Regions from separate parts of the Homo sapiens genome. Here all the other regions are linked to region 1. Evidence: promoter capture Hi-C in 16 types of primary human blood cells and fetal thymus (Javierre and others, 2016). All regions are on one chromosome and are shown on one strand. The core of a region is centred on a gene start or on the middle of the fragment in contact, and the rest is flanking DNA. Distances in the headings are between cores, read along the strand shown.

The links. Contacts are between HindIII fragments. The CHiCAGO score rates a contact against its expected background, and 5 or more counts as called.
Region 2: a fragment that was not itself captured here is called in contact with the fragment with the promoter of PLPP5 in region 1 in 8 of 17 cell types (total CD8 T cells, activated CD4 T cells, naive CD8 T cells and 5 more); the score reaches 10.4 in total CD8 T cells.
Region 3: a contact is called between a fragment that was not itself captured here and the fragment with the promoter of PLPP5 in region 1, in 6 of 17 cell types (activated CD4 T cells, total CD8 T cells, total CD4 T cells and 3 more). The highest score is 6.4, in activated CD4 T cells.
Region 4: a contact is called between a fragment that was not itself captured here and the fragment with the promoter of PLPP5 in region 1, in 1 of 17 cell types (naive CD8 T cells). The highest score is 5.6, in naive CD8 T cells.
Region 5: a fragment that was not itself captured here is called in contact with the fragment with the promoter of PLPP5 in region 1 in 3 of 17 cell types (megakaryocytes, total CD4 T cells and activated CD4 T cells); the score reaches 7.1 in megakaryocytes.

What each region holds. Positions count from the first base shown.
Region 1 is chr8:38,267,934-38,270,633 of GRCh38, forward strand. It overlaps PLPP5 (phospholipid phosphatase 5), which reads right to left and starts at 1,291. Exons shown (of 7, transcript NM_001102559.2): 1 at 1,193-1,291; 2 at 949-1,057; 3 at 438-528; 4 at 1-27. The coding sequence starts at 1,266. It overlaps NSD3 (nuclear receptor binding SET domain protein 3), which reads right to left. Exons shown (of 24, transcript NM_023034.2): 24 at 1,771-2,700. It also overlaps a transcript of DDHD2 not described here. RefSeq lists a silencer at 1,010-1,489. The HindIII fragment of the contact is 3,801 bases long and covers 1-1,979 here.
Region 2 is chr8:37,759,536-37,762,235 of GRCh38, forward strand. LOC124901934 (a long non-coding RNA gene) reads right to left here. Exons shown (of 2, transcript XR_007060889.1): 2 at 1-2,700. Among named protein-coding and RNA genes, the nearest start is that of PLPBP, 1.8 kb to the right of the region's middle. RefSeq lists an enhancer at 2,659-2,700. The HindIII fragment of the contact is 2,312 bases long and covers 181-2,492 here.
Region 3 is chr8:37,778,631-37,781,330 of GRCh38, forward strand. It overlaps PLPBP (pyridoxal phosphate binding protein), which reads left to right. Exons shown (of 8, transcript NM_007198.4): 8 at 1-1,138. Among named protein-coding and RNA genes, the nearest start is that of ADGRA2, 17 kb to the right of the region's middle. RefSeq lists enhancers at 1,859-2,359, 2,300-2,700. The HindIII fragment of the contact is 3,237 bases long and covers 1-2,700 here.
Region 4 is chr8:37,843,943-37,846,642 of GRCh38, forward strand. It overlaps ADGRA2 (adhesion G protein-coupled receptor A2), which reads left to right. Exons shown (of 19, transcript NM_032777.10): 19 at 1-954. BRF2 (BRF2 general transcription factor IIIB subunit) reads right to left here. Exons shown (of 4, transcript NM_018310.4): 4 at 1-1,271. The coding sequence ends at 548. Among named protein-coding and RNA genes, the nearest start is that of BRF2, 4.6 kb to the right of the region's middle. The HindIII fragment of the contact is 364 bases long and covers 1,253-1,616 here.
Region 5 is chr8:38,778,044-38,780,743 of GRCh38, forward strand. It overlaps a transcript of TACC1 not described here. Among named protein-coding and RNA genes, the nearest start is that of TACC1, 7.8 kb to the right of the region's middle. The HindIII fragment of the contact is 1,490 bases long and covers 529-2,018 here.

The sequences.
Region 1 (2,700 bases), core at 41-2,540:
CATTCAGAGCCAGGGCAAGGCTGGCAGCTGCAAAGCAAAGCCATTAGTTGAAAGGATCTGTCTAGGAGGAAAGGTATGGTCATGGCCTCGTTATGAGAGCAGCCGTGCTGTTTCTGAGATGGATAGAATCCAACCAGGCCTGGGCACAAAAATAATTAGGGTCCTCAGTGATCACTCTTTTGTAGCCGAGAACTTTTGTACTAGGCCAAAGACATTTCTGAGGTACAAATAACCCAGTGCATTTAGGCACAGGGCTGCCTGCCGTGTAGCCTGCGTAACCAAGTCCCTGCAGTGCTATTTTCCTCTCCCGCGGGGATAGAGTTCCTTTAGGAATGCAGAACTCAGTGGCCTCCACACAGGCTCACCGTGGCTGAATCCCACAACGACCTCCTAGGTTCCCAGCACGAAGAAACCGGCCCGAAAGGGCTAGCGCTCACCCAGGCAGGCTTGTCTGCTGTCTCTTGTGTCTGCCTTCTTGAGAAATTTGGCCAGGAAGATCAGAGACAGTGGAGAGAGAAATGCAATAACCTGAATCAGAATGTCAGAGGTTAAAAACAATCCAAAAAAAAGCCACACTCGTGCTCCTACAGGAAAGAGGGATGTGACACAGCAGGACTCACTGGAGCTAACATAAGGTCTCTGAGTGCGCGTAACCGGGCGCCAGGCAGCGCCACCAGTGAACAGCAGCGCCCGTGCGGCTCGGGCCCCGGTACCTCAGGCTGAGGCACAGAGCGCCCGGGAAAACGTTGTCTCAGCCCAAAGAGGCTCGGACACCCTCCTCTCTCAATCAGGATCTTAAACACTCGAGCCCTAGGAGGCGGAACCCAGCGCACAGCAGCGGAGTGGGCAGTGGGTCCCTACAAAGGCCGTCTCGGGGTGGAAAACGCACAGGTGCCCGCGGGAAGCCGGGTCATGGGGAGGGAGGAAAGACGATCTTTCTCCACGCACAAACATCGGCTTGGTGGGGAAATACTCCGCCTCCACGTAGGGGTTCCGGTAGAGCCACATCTCCTCCGGCTGGATGAGTCTCTGGAACGGGGGGAGCAGCTCCGTCACCCTAGAGGGGAACAAAGAAGCGCAGAGCAGGTCGCCTGGCTTCCTCCCCGCTTCCCCACTGCCCGACCCGCCGCCCCGTGCCGCCCGCCTGCCTGGGAAGCGGGGCCGCCCGGGCCCGGCCGTGGATCTTTCTTACAGGAAGGCCGCGAACAGCGCGAGCCGCACGCCCACTTCGGCCCCAAAGGCCACCGCCGCCGCCGCCTTCCCCATCCGGCCGCGAGCTCCGAGCGACGCTGCGCTGACGTGGCCACCTCCGCGGGGAGGGCCGGGCCGGGAACTGGGCACCGCCCCCTCTCCCAGTTGCCCGCGCTCCGGCGGCTCCCCAGGAAGACGGCCTGGCGGCTGTGCCGAGGGCATCGTCTGGCAAAGGGTACGCAAAGCCAGCGGAGCTGCCCTCTGGTGCGTTCAGCAGGGAGCCAGCGCCCCAGTTCCAGCCGAGTAGGTCGGCGTACGGTCCATCATCAGCAGCTCGTCTCCACGGCCCAACCACACCACCGCGGGGAGCAGCCTTCTCCCGGGACCTCGCCTCTAAATGGAAAACCAAACAGCCCGCTCTCAGATCCTCGTTCCTTAGCAACACAGCCGCATTCTGCAGGAAGCTACACTACCTGAGGTTGGCTGGATTGTGTCATTTAGTCCTCCCACCCAGGATGGCCTCCTGCCCAGAGTGTTGTAGCAAAAAATTATTGGCAAAGAACAAGCCCACATATTTAATTTGGAACATACAGGACAATTTATTGAAGTCAATCTCAAGCAAAATCTGAAATCAGTGGAATGTCATTAAAAACCTTTCCAAATTAATCCTCACGGAAGCAAAAAACACATTGGAATTCCAAAGTATTTGTAAAATAAAAAAGGCAACATCTCAGTAAATATAATGTACAAAAATTATATGTTCCTACCAGCACACACATCAGTAAAGAAGCTTAAATATTACAGGCAACCCTAAATACACTATAACTAGTCAACAATAAGCTATCTATATACAGGTTAACCAAGCTTTACACGTTTCACACTATGCAATAAAACATAGGCCAATCAACAAAATCCTCAAAATATTATATATCTTGAAGTCTATGTGGCAACATCAAGTCATTATACAGTAATGCCCTAGTGGAACACCCCCAGGGAAAATTAACACTAATCCCTTAGTGTCAAGAGCTTCTAGCCAAGTCACAGAAACTCAAAAGAGATTGACTTTAGTGAATATTGATGCTTTGTTATTAAAGACTCAAGTCTCAAGTGATTTAGGCAAAGTAATGGTTCACAGGATCTACAAAGTTTATTACAGATAAAGTACAGAAATAACCAATCTACAAAGATCATTATCATAAAGAACACGAGAAAATGAAAACGGAGTCTGTAGGTATCTGTGTTTGTTGTGCAATATCACTCAAATGGGTACAAATGAGTTTCTCATATCAATTCCAAATATACACATACCCTTGTATATAAAAAATGATATTAGCCAGTTGTAATACTCATTTAGCATCTTGATTATTAGTGGCAATATAATTATCTTAACATAGGGCATGTAACAGGACAAATGAGATAAAATAATGACAACCAAGTAAGTTTTATCCAGTCCATTTCTAAACTGACAAGAATACCTTATTCAATACCTTATATAGGTCATCTGACAGA
Region 2 (2,700 bases), core at 87-2,586, 510 kb before region 1:
GCATTATTTCTCCGTTTCTCTTTAGAGCTAAGTAACCAGGCAACAGTAATTTTCTATTTTACTTTTTACTTTTTTATCCCCCTAAAAGACTCACAGTAGGCTCAGAAGGAAACAATTTTTAAATCCATATATGTTTTTCTCATAATTTGGATTTATTCCAGACTATGAGGGTGTTTTAAAAGCTTGATGGCATTGATGGTGAATAAGTATACTAGATTTTAGATTATTTATAAAATCTGTTTCTCTGGGCATTTGGCTTTTTAATCTTTCTCTTTTCCCCTTGGTCCTTGCAAATTATTGGAGCAATTTAAAGACAATTACTGGTGATGAAATGATTTTGGACTTGTATTTTTCAAGGATTAGGTAGTAGGGGAGGATGAAAGGTTAAATTGGATGGTTGATGTCCCAGGAAGAGGAAGAGAAGAAATTAAAAAAGCAAATAAGGAAAAAAAGGGACAAAGTGAAATAAAATTAATTCAAAAGTACAACTAAGAAGAAATTGGAATGTGAAATGACCATGGGACTGGGGGCACCATGATCTTTTTGTCTCCATTTCCATTTTCATAAGACCACAGAATGTCAGAGATGAAAAGCGAGCATATTGGAAGTAAATCGGCAGTAAAGCCTGTCTTACTCAGCCTGGTCTCTCTCAGGGTTCTTTACAGAGTAACGCCTCAGTAAATGTTCACTGAATGGATAAGGGGGTGGGAGGATGACCTTGCCTTGTAGTTCAAAGAATAGAGGTCCCTGGCTGGGCACGGTGGCCCACGACTGTAATCCCAGCACTTTGGGAGGCCGAGGCGGGTGGATCACAAGGTCAGGAGTTCGAGACCAACCTGGCTAACATAGTGAAACCCCATCTGTACTAAAAATACAAAAATTAGGCGGGCGTGGTGATGCACGCCTGTAGTCCCAGCTACTCGGGAGGCTCAGGCAGGAGAATCACTTGCACCCAGGAGGCAGAGGTTGCAGTGAGCCGAGATCGCGTCACTGCACTCCAGCTTGAGTGACAGAGCAAGACTTCGTCTCAAAAAACACAAAAAAGAATAGAGGCCCAATCTAGTAAATGAAGCTACAACTACTTGTTGTCATAGTGACGTAACACCTGGATTATACATTCCCTAGATCTGTGAGGTATTTATGGTTTTAAAATGTTTTCCAAATAGCACATTATTTGAAGTGTTTCATCTCACCCAATCCTTCCTCTACACATCCCATCACCATGATCCCCTCTGTCCTCCCCATCACTCACTGCTGGCTCGCTCCTTCCCACCTGTGTCTCTACAGCAAGCATCTATTATGCTCACACCACAAAGGGCCATTCTGGTCATTTTAAATTTTTTTATCATTTTGGTTGGAGTACAGATGTATCAAGTCTAGAGACATTTTATCTGAACACAATTACTCCTAATGTTGGCAGTCCTAGTTTGCAGATAACCCAGTTAATGTGTACCAGGGTAAATGACCAGAGACTTCCCAAAAAGAAGTCCCTTATTTTAAGGATCTGAGGTTCTGCCTAATGTGACTTTCCCAGAGCAGAAGATGTGAAATTCCATCTCTGTTCCTGGGAGTCTGGGGAAAAACTGTGAGAGGAGAGAGTAAGAATATTGCCCCTTCTTTCCGGAAAGCTCTAATAAACCCCATCACCTCAAGACAAGACCACCTGAAGAACAAACATTAGCCATTTCTCTAATATAATAGCATCCCACTTCATTAAGTTGAATTAATGTTTGAGAAACTTTCAACAGAAATTGCAGCCAAGAGTGCTTTCCTTAACAAAATTGATCTCCTTCTCCTTGCCCGTAGCACCTACTATTTCACCACCTGACTATGTAGCATTCTGTATTATTATTTGTATGGCCTGGCTCCTCATCAAGTTTATAACCATATTGCCCACAGAAGGGGACTCAAGAATCAAACTCAGGGCGTTGTGGTGCCCGTTTGTAGTCCCAGCTATTCTGTGAGGCGGAGGTGGGAGGATTGCTTGGGCCCACGAGTCCCAGATAATCTGGGCAACATAGCGAGACCCCATCTCAAAAAAAGAATCTAACTGAATGTGCTGAGCTCCTGCTAGACCATCTAAAGCTGCCTGTGGGCTGGGCGCGGTGGCTCGCACCTGTAGTCCCAGCTACTGGGGAGGCTGAGGCAGGAGAATCGCTTGAACCCGGGAGGTGGAGGTTGCAGTGAGCCCAGATCGGGCCACCGCACTCCAGCCTGGGTGACAGAGCGAGACTGTCTCAATAATAATAATAGTAATAATCATGCTGCCTGTGTCCCCTGATGAGACAGCACTGGCCGCAGGTGGCCGCTAACCTCTCGAAATAGGGATGGCCCGAATTGAGACATATGCAAGTCAACACTACACCGGGTTTCAGAAACACATACGATTTTCAAAAGAATTAAAATATCGCATTTAGTTTTTCTATTGATTGCATGTTGAAATCTTACTTTGGATATATTGGATTAAATAAAGTATATCATTAAAATTTTTAAGCTTATGTGCCTATGAGAAACTTCCAAATTACACAGTTGGATGGCGTTATATTTCTCTTGGACAGCAGTGGTCTGAAAGATGACAAAAATCACGATACGTTTGAATCACGCCATGTCTTTAGGGAAAAGAAGAAAGAAGAGTTTCCTTTCGTATCGCTTAGGGGTTCCTCGCAAGAACCATCTGACAGAGAAAAGCCCTGGCTCCCG
Region 3 (2,700 bases), core at 1-2,500, 490 kb before region 1:
TTCAGGAAATGGCTCAGGTTAATTCTCAAAACACAAATTGTTGCTGGCCAGGCATGGTGACTCATGCCTGTAATCCCAGCAATTTGGGAGACAGAGGCGGAAGGATCACCTGAGCCTAGGAGTTCAAGACCAGCCTCAGCAACAGCAGGAGCCCCACCCCCCGTCTCTACAAAAAAATTTAAAAATTAACTGGGCATGGTGGCTGAGGTGGAAGAATGGAAGAATCACTTGAGCCCAGGAGTTTGAGGCTGCAGTGAGCTATGATTGCACCACTGTACTCCTGCCTTAAAAAAAAAAAAAAAATCCCAATAGTCCATGAAGGCTTTGATCTCTTGGGAAGTTCTTCATAGATGCTGTCACATTTCTTAAAGCAACCTTTTAATATGCAGATAATACCCCCCAACTTTTTTAGAGACAGCCTGTCTCTTAAAAAAAAAATTAATTTGGTAGTGAGAGCTTGTGTCACTGCCACTCTGTTTTATCCCTGAAATTAAAGGATAACATAAGGAGGACTTGGGCCTTTCTGACATCATCCTGAAGAGACAGGACTTTGCGTTTTTCCTCTGGGACCTACAGTGATGAGAATTTAATGATTATCTCCTCCACTATAATCCTCTTTAGGGTGATTTTTTAAATCAAAACCCAGTGAATCTCATTACTCCTAAGAAACGAAAGATTCCTTCAAAGCCTTTTCAGGCACATGGTTTCAACAAAGCCTGGCTTTGACATTCCTTGTCCTGAGGAGCACTTTCCAGGCATAGTTACAGCTTCCCCACTGTATTTACAAGCCAGAATTGTGCAACTCTTCTGGATCATTAATAAAGTAGCAAGATCCTCAAAAAACCCAAAAACACCATTCTCTAATAGTCATGACAAATGGCTTCAGTATGGCTTGTTTTTTATTTTCCAGATGGCTTTTTCTCTTATTTTTTGAAGCCCCAGTCTTTGATTTTACAGGTAACTTTCAAAACATCATGATGCTGCCAAATGTACTTTTGTAAACTTAAACATTATGATTCCTGTATTATTTCAGTGAGAGCTACAGTGTGATATTTCAGAGTCTATTAAATAAAAATGTGAGTTTGAATTACACCATCTGTGCCAATTACAAAGCAATTAAAAGATTTATTTTTTATGATCTGGTGTAGTGACTGAATATAACAGGTGGGGGCATTGGAACCGACGGGAAGCAGCTATGCTGGTGCCTTGGCATTGTGCCAGCCTGGCTTTGGAGGAGGGCTTCCCTGGGGTCACAGACGCAGCCAAAGCTACACCATGGGTGAGAGGGATTCTGAACTTCTAAGGGCAAGAAAAAGGACATTTCAAGAATTACAAAAATAGTTACCCCTCACTGCAAGAGACTTTTGAATTGCCTCTAGATGGCGACATTGGCTAACCTGAGGGACAAGCACTGGCTCTCCACTGTCAGTAGTTTACCTTATGAGGGACTCCTGGTTACTCAGTCTGGTGGAGGCCAGAGAGGACATGACGCTCTCAAGTGATAGTGTGACTTGCAGAGCCTCAGGGGTTCGATACCAGCTAGCCTGGGCAACACGGTGAAATCTTGTCTGTACCAAAAATACCCCGCCCAAAAATTAGCTGGGCATGGTGGCACATGCCTGTGGACCCAGCTACTCCAGAGGCTGAGGTGGGAGGATCGCTTGAGCCTGGGAGGAAGAAGTCACGGTGAGCTGAGATCGCACCACTGCACTGCAGCTTGGGTGACAAGGTGAGACCCCATCTCAAAACAAAACAAAAACAGCGAATAAGGAGGAAAGCCAGGGAAGGCTCAATCAGATCTAGATAAGGGAAGGACACCAAAGTGTGTCTAGGGTGTCCCCAGCAGGATGGGATATTTTGCAGAGAGAAAATTGAGCCAGGTTGTGAGTTTGTCTTTCGTTACGCATGATGGGTGGCAGGTTGGGTTTCTTCCAGATTTTCATGAAAGCCAGTTCCTGGAGTTTGGACGGCTTGCTCTCCTGGATTGGGCCCACCTGTGCAGCCTCACAGTCTCTGAAGGCGCTGGGCCCTTGTCTGCCCTGAAGCCAGCCTCAGAAGGCTTGAGACGCCACAAAACCTCCCAATAGTCCATCAAGACTTTGATCTCTTGGGGAGCTCCTCACAGATTCTATCACAGTTCTTAAAGCAACCTCTTAATACTCAAATGGTACCCCCCACCTTTTGTTTAACATTGATGGCATATGCAGCACTATTCTCTATATTCTCTCATTTCACCATCACAACAGCTGGTAGACTTGTGTAGGCTGATAGGCAATGTCCCTTTGTGGACGGGGCACTGGGGCCCAGAGAAGGTTCCGTGTTCTCCTTGTCTGAGGTCAGAGTGAGTTGTGGCAGGACGAGAAATAAACTCAGGACTTGACTTTCTGGCCCAGAACATGGTCACTACTCCACACTGGTATCTTCTATCTCTACCTTTAATAATTGATAAGTGGCATATTCTTAGATGTGCAGCTTTCATTTAAACGAGCCTTATTACCATAAAATAAGTGTGTGTGTTTCTATTCCAGTGGAACAGCTGAGAATTGACGCATCTTAATGCAGAACAAACTTTGAAACCACAGGCAGTGGGGGTGAGAAGGAAGGAGAGCATTAAACCCAGCCATGAGTGGGATTGGCCTCCCCTCTCGTCATCCCATCTCCCTCCCAAGCTCATTCCTCATGATTCAAGCTAATCTCACA
Region 4 (2,700 bases), core at 185-2,684, 420 kb before region 1:
ATATTAAAATTTTGCAAAGCCCTTTGAGCTACTGCCTTAGTCTACCCACTGTCCTTTTGTTATGAGGTAGAGGATCTCATGACACCATACACACAAACCCATCATTGCCTGTGAATGCACGTAGGGCCAGAATTCCCCAGTTCCCGCTCCTCTGAGGGTTGATACTGCTGGGAATGCCAACCACTCCACAAGCAGAGGGAAGCCCCCTCAGGCCTGCAGGAGGAGCCGCAGCAGTGTGTCCAATTCAAACCAGCAGCAAAGAGCCTGACATTTTCCCATCCATCTATGAGGAAAGCCATCTCACAGAACATGGACATAGGCAACTTGCTCTCCCACACCAAGGGATGGGAATCTCTCCTACCTATAGTCATCCCTGCACTCCTGACTTTACTCCAGGACCCAGGGTCCAACTAATGGCAGAGCCCCTCTTGGTTCCTTCAAACAAGAAAAGCAATACCTACGGACTGGTGTACACTTCCATCCTTGGTTATAACAGGAATGTTATCAAGCTGTCAGAACAGGATGAAGTGCTCCCAGTGGATATCCATCAGGGAGGGTTAGGGACACTCGTGGCAGCCTGTCTAGCAGCCTGGGCTCTCTGAAAGTCCCTAACTTCCTGAGGGGTACGCAAATACTGTTCTATTTCACTATCAGAAATGTTCTCATCTCCAGTGACAGTGGAGACAGGGGGTACAGGGCAGATCCGCTTCGGGGACTTCAACATGCAGGGTGGCAAGAGAAGGGCAGGACTGGCCGGCCGCTTCCCCTGGGGTAAACCTAAGGAATTATTTCCCACCTCCCCTTCTCCTTGCCCCTGTCCCCACCCCGGTGGCTCCTTCTCTCGGGTCTCCACTTCTGCTGTCCCATCCCGAAAGGCAGAGCGGACCAGTGACTGGCGGTGCTGGAGAAGGTCACCGATGTGCTTCACCACAGACCGTTTGTCAAGTCTCAGAACTCGTAACCAGGCCAGCTGCTCAGCCATCCGCAGCAGCACAGCCAGCAGCTCCTGCAGGCGGGAGGACGCCGGGTAGGGCAGGTCCACATTTGCCAATTTACAAAATCGGGCAAGGGAACATGAAAGCCGATCTGCAGGCTGCAGCGACTGCCAAGCCAGGAAAGTCGCAGCAGTGATGACGGGCAAGGGATGCCTCCCGGTCACCAGCCACGTCTCATTTGCCAGCTCCACCAACTGCATTGTTCGAGACAGCATCTTCTCTTTGTCTTCCACGTATTTGGCTGGCACAGAAGGTGAAGCTTGGAACAGTTTGAAGCTGAAATAACCAAAATGAGGGTTGGATCTTAATGATATAGGGGCTGCTCTCCCACAGTGAGGAAAGACAGCCCACTCAAGATGGGGAAGCTATTCTGCCCTCAGGAATACTCAAGCTCACTGGGCAGCAAGTTAATAAAGGTAGTGAGAGAAAACAGGGCGTCTTCCGCTTGTTAGGGGAAGGTGGAGGGATGGAGGAGAGCACGAACATTTATTGGGCGCCTCCCAATCACCATTATTCTGAGTGCTTTACAACGTTCTCATTTAATCTACGTGCACGTGCACCATCTTATGTGCATGTATAGTTAAAAAACTTTCCCATAGTCATCCAGCCAGGCAGTAACCAAGCTTCAAATACAAGGCTATTTGACACCAACAGCCTCTACTTTCAACGTTATTTATCAGAAAAAAGAAAAGAACATAGCTACTTCAAATGAGAAAAGAGCCAGGCGCAGTGCTCACGCCTGTAATACCTGCATTTTGGGAGGATCAGGTGGGCAGATCGCTTGAGCCCATGAGTTCCAGGCTGCAGTGAGCTATGATGGTGCCACTGCACTCCAGGCTGGGTGAAAGAGACCCTGTCTTTAAAAAAACTAGAAAAGACTTAGCTTCTAAGCCCAGTTATGTCATTAACTAATATACTTTCAGCTTCCTCTGCAGATGATCCTGCTGAGACAGAGCTGGGCATTCAGCCACAAAGCCCATGGCACAGCACAACTCTAGGAACTGCCATGCACAGAGCACAAAACATGAGTGGTGCAACTCAGCAGCCCTGTGCCAAGACTCAGACCTATTTTCCCCAAGTCATTAGGTTGCTGTGAAGGCAAAGGGGTTTGAAAATTATAGCATTCTTTGGCGGGGTGCAGTGGCTCACACTTGTAATCCCAGCACTTTGGGAGGCTGAGGTGGGTAGAACGCTTGAGTCCAGGAGTTCAAGACCAGCCTGGGCAACATGGCGAAACCCCATCTCTACTAAAAACAAAAAATTAGCCAGGCATGGTGGCATGCACCTGTAGTCCCAGCTACTTGGGAGGCTGAGGCACAAAAATCACTTGAACCCGGGAGGTGGAGGTTGCCGTGAGCCGAAATCATGCCACTGCTCTCCAGCCTGGGCAACACAGCAAGACTCGGTCTCAAAAAAAAGAAAATTATAGCATTCTAAAAATGTAAAACAATATTAACCTTATGAGTACAAGTTTAAACTAAAGATCTTTCTCCCACATCCTTTTACATGGGCTTTGGTAAAAAAGAGATGGCCAAGGCCGGGTGCGGTGGCTCACGCCTGTAATCCCAGAACTTTGGGAGGCCGAGGCAGGCGGATCACCTGAGGTCAGGAGTTCGAGATCAGCCTGGTCAACATGGTGAAACCCTGTCTCTACTAAAAATGCAAAGAAAAACAAAAAAATTAGCCAGGCATGGTGGCAGGCACC
Region 5 (2,700 bases), core at 24-2,523, 510 kb after region 1:
TTCAAAGAGTAGAGGTGCATAGACACACAATGTTAAAGAAGCATTATAGTTTTTCTTTTTTATCTTTGTGTGTGTGCATGTGTGTAGAGATGGGCTCTCACTGTGTGGTCCAGGCTGGTCTCAAACTCCTGGGCTCAAGCGATCCTCCTGCCTTCGTCTCCCAAAGTGTTGGGATTACAATCATGAGCCACCACACCTGGCCTTTTGCTTTTTTATCTTAATAATTAAAATTGTGTGTGTGTGTGTGTGTGTGTATGTGTGTGTTTACAATGGGTACAGAAGGAACAGAGCCATGAATTATGTTTCACAATCTGTGTAGGAGATATCTTTTGACAGTTTTATCCAGTTTCCAACAGTTAAATATTTTTGTTTCCTCTAAGAAGACAGAGGTCAGTGTGACCCCCTCGCTCCATAAATGGACATTTCACTTACTGAGTTGAGGCCAGCTGAACCACTCCTGAGCCACAGGCAGGAATCTCTTTTGTTCTCTGGGCAGAGCTGAATTTACTATGAAGCTGAGGAAGCCTAAGCTTCAGTCCCCTCCCTTGCATGGGCCCCTTCATACTAGTGTGGCCCTAGCACTGTGTTCATGGGGTCCTTTAGCATTTTTCTTAAAGAGTGCTTCCCCAGTTTTTAGGCTTCCTGCTTCACAAAATCAGGCCTTGGCAACCTGTTTGATGCCTCCTTTCTTTGCTGAGCCTTGCTACTTTTTCCCAGATGGGGAGAGGCTCCTGGGTGTCATTTCCCTCATCAACATAGTTTCTTGGAAGAAACCACCCTAAAAGGAAGTATAGCGAAAGAGCATCCCAAAGAAAGAGATGTTAAAATTAATCCTTTTGCACCTCCCACATAAAGTATGCCTTTTATGCTCTGGCCCAATTTTTTGTGCCTTTGAGGATTCTCATTTGTATCAGTAGGGGTCCTTGGGTTTTTTTTTTTTTTTTCTTTTCTTTTTAGACAAGGTCTCGCTCTGTCACCCAATCTGGAATGCAATGCCACAATCACGGCTTACTTCAGCCTTGACCTTCTGGGCTCAAGCGATCCTCCTGGGCTCAAGATTAGCTGGGACTACAGGCGAACACCACCACGCCTGGCTACTTTTTAATTTTTTTATAGAGATGGGGTTTTGCTATGTTGCTCAGGCTGGTCTCAAAGTCCTGGGCTCAAGTTATCCTCCTGCCTCAGCCTCCAAAAGTGCTGGGATTATAGGAAGATGCCACTATGCCTGGCTGAAATGCTCTTTTTTTATGGTACTTTGGCTCAACTGGCAAATGCCTTCTTGAAATGAGCATTTCACACTTTGGTCACCACACAGTCACTTAGATGAAACCCACAGGCTGCCCAGTAACATGGGCTCCCACTGGGCATTTGGGGAAGGGCACACCCTGCCTGGAGTGGTGAGCACTGCTAGGCCTGCTCTCCGCCCTTTTCCACCCTCCGGGTGTCTTCAAAGCTGGCTGTTTTCTACACTAACTTCTGGCAGGTCTGGATTTTCCGTATAAGGGCTTTTTTGGCCAGTACTTCCTTATACTGAAGAATTTTATATTAGTTCCCTTTCAGATTCGAAAATCAATCTTTAGTCAACCTAAAACATTATTCCTGGAGTGGGGCTTGACTGTATGTGGGGAAGAGGAGAGGGAGAGACTGATGCAAATATGCACACACACATACTTTTTGCATACAATTTCAGGGAGGCCAGGACCTTCTGAAACCCTTCCTTGCTAAGCCTCTGCTGTAGAGGGTGAAATGCAGCCAAGTTAACTTGTTAACAACAACAAAAAGGCCGTAACAATACTTTCCTCCTGAGATTGTAGGAGTAAGTGGGGGAGATTAAATGAGACGATTCATGTAAAGTGTAGTGTCTAACACATAGTAAGCAGTTATAATTGTTCACTTTTCTTTTGGGGCTTAAATGATCTTACTTGTTTTCACGAGTTCCTTAGGTAATAACAATACTAACAGCCTTTGTTTTTCCATGGCCTGTTGTTTGCCTTTTAACTTGAAGGCACACAGTCAGAAGCTTCATTTTTTTAAATGTAACCAAATCTATCTTTATTTTGTGTCTGATTTCATTAATTACTTGTAAGTTGGATCCTCATCCTTCCTACAGAGCTCTGATAGATTCTGTTGCTTGTAGACTGTTTTCTCCCAATGGTTCGATTTTTATTATTTAGTCATCTAATCCATCTGGAATTTATCCTGGTATATGCTCTGAGGTAAGGGTTTAACTTGATCTTTTTTCCCATTGCCAGCCAACTATGCTCCAATCATAAATCTTCCTTCTCCTTACATATTGTAACATGTTCTTTATATTTTTGTTGTTTGTTCTTTTTTTTTGAGATAGAGTCTCGCTCTGTTGCCCAGGCTGGAGTGCAGTGGCACGATCTTGGCTCACTGCAACCTCCGCCTCCCGGGTTCAAGCCATCTTTTTTGGTATATAATAAATTCCTGTATCTTGTAAGATCTTTTCCTGGGCTTTCTGTTCTGTGTTACAGAACAAAGATCTGGCTATTTTTGCATAAATGTGTCTCAATGTCTTGTAGGACTAGTCTATTCTTCACTCTTCTTGTTGGTGTTGTTTTTTTTTGTTTTTTTTTTACAAAATCTAAAATATGTTCACCAGTTTATTTTTCCAGATAAACTTTTAAACATTATTGACGAATTCTAAGAAAAATCCCCTCGGAATTTTGATTGAAATCA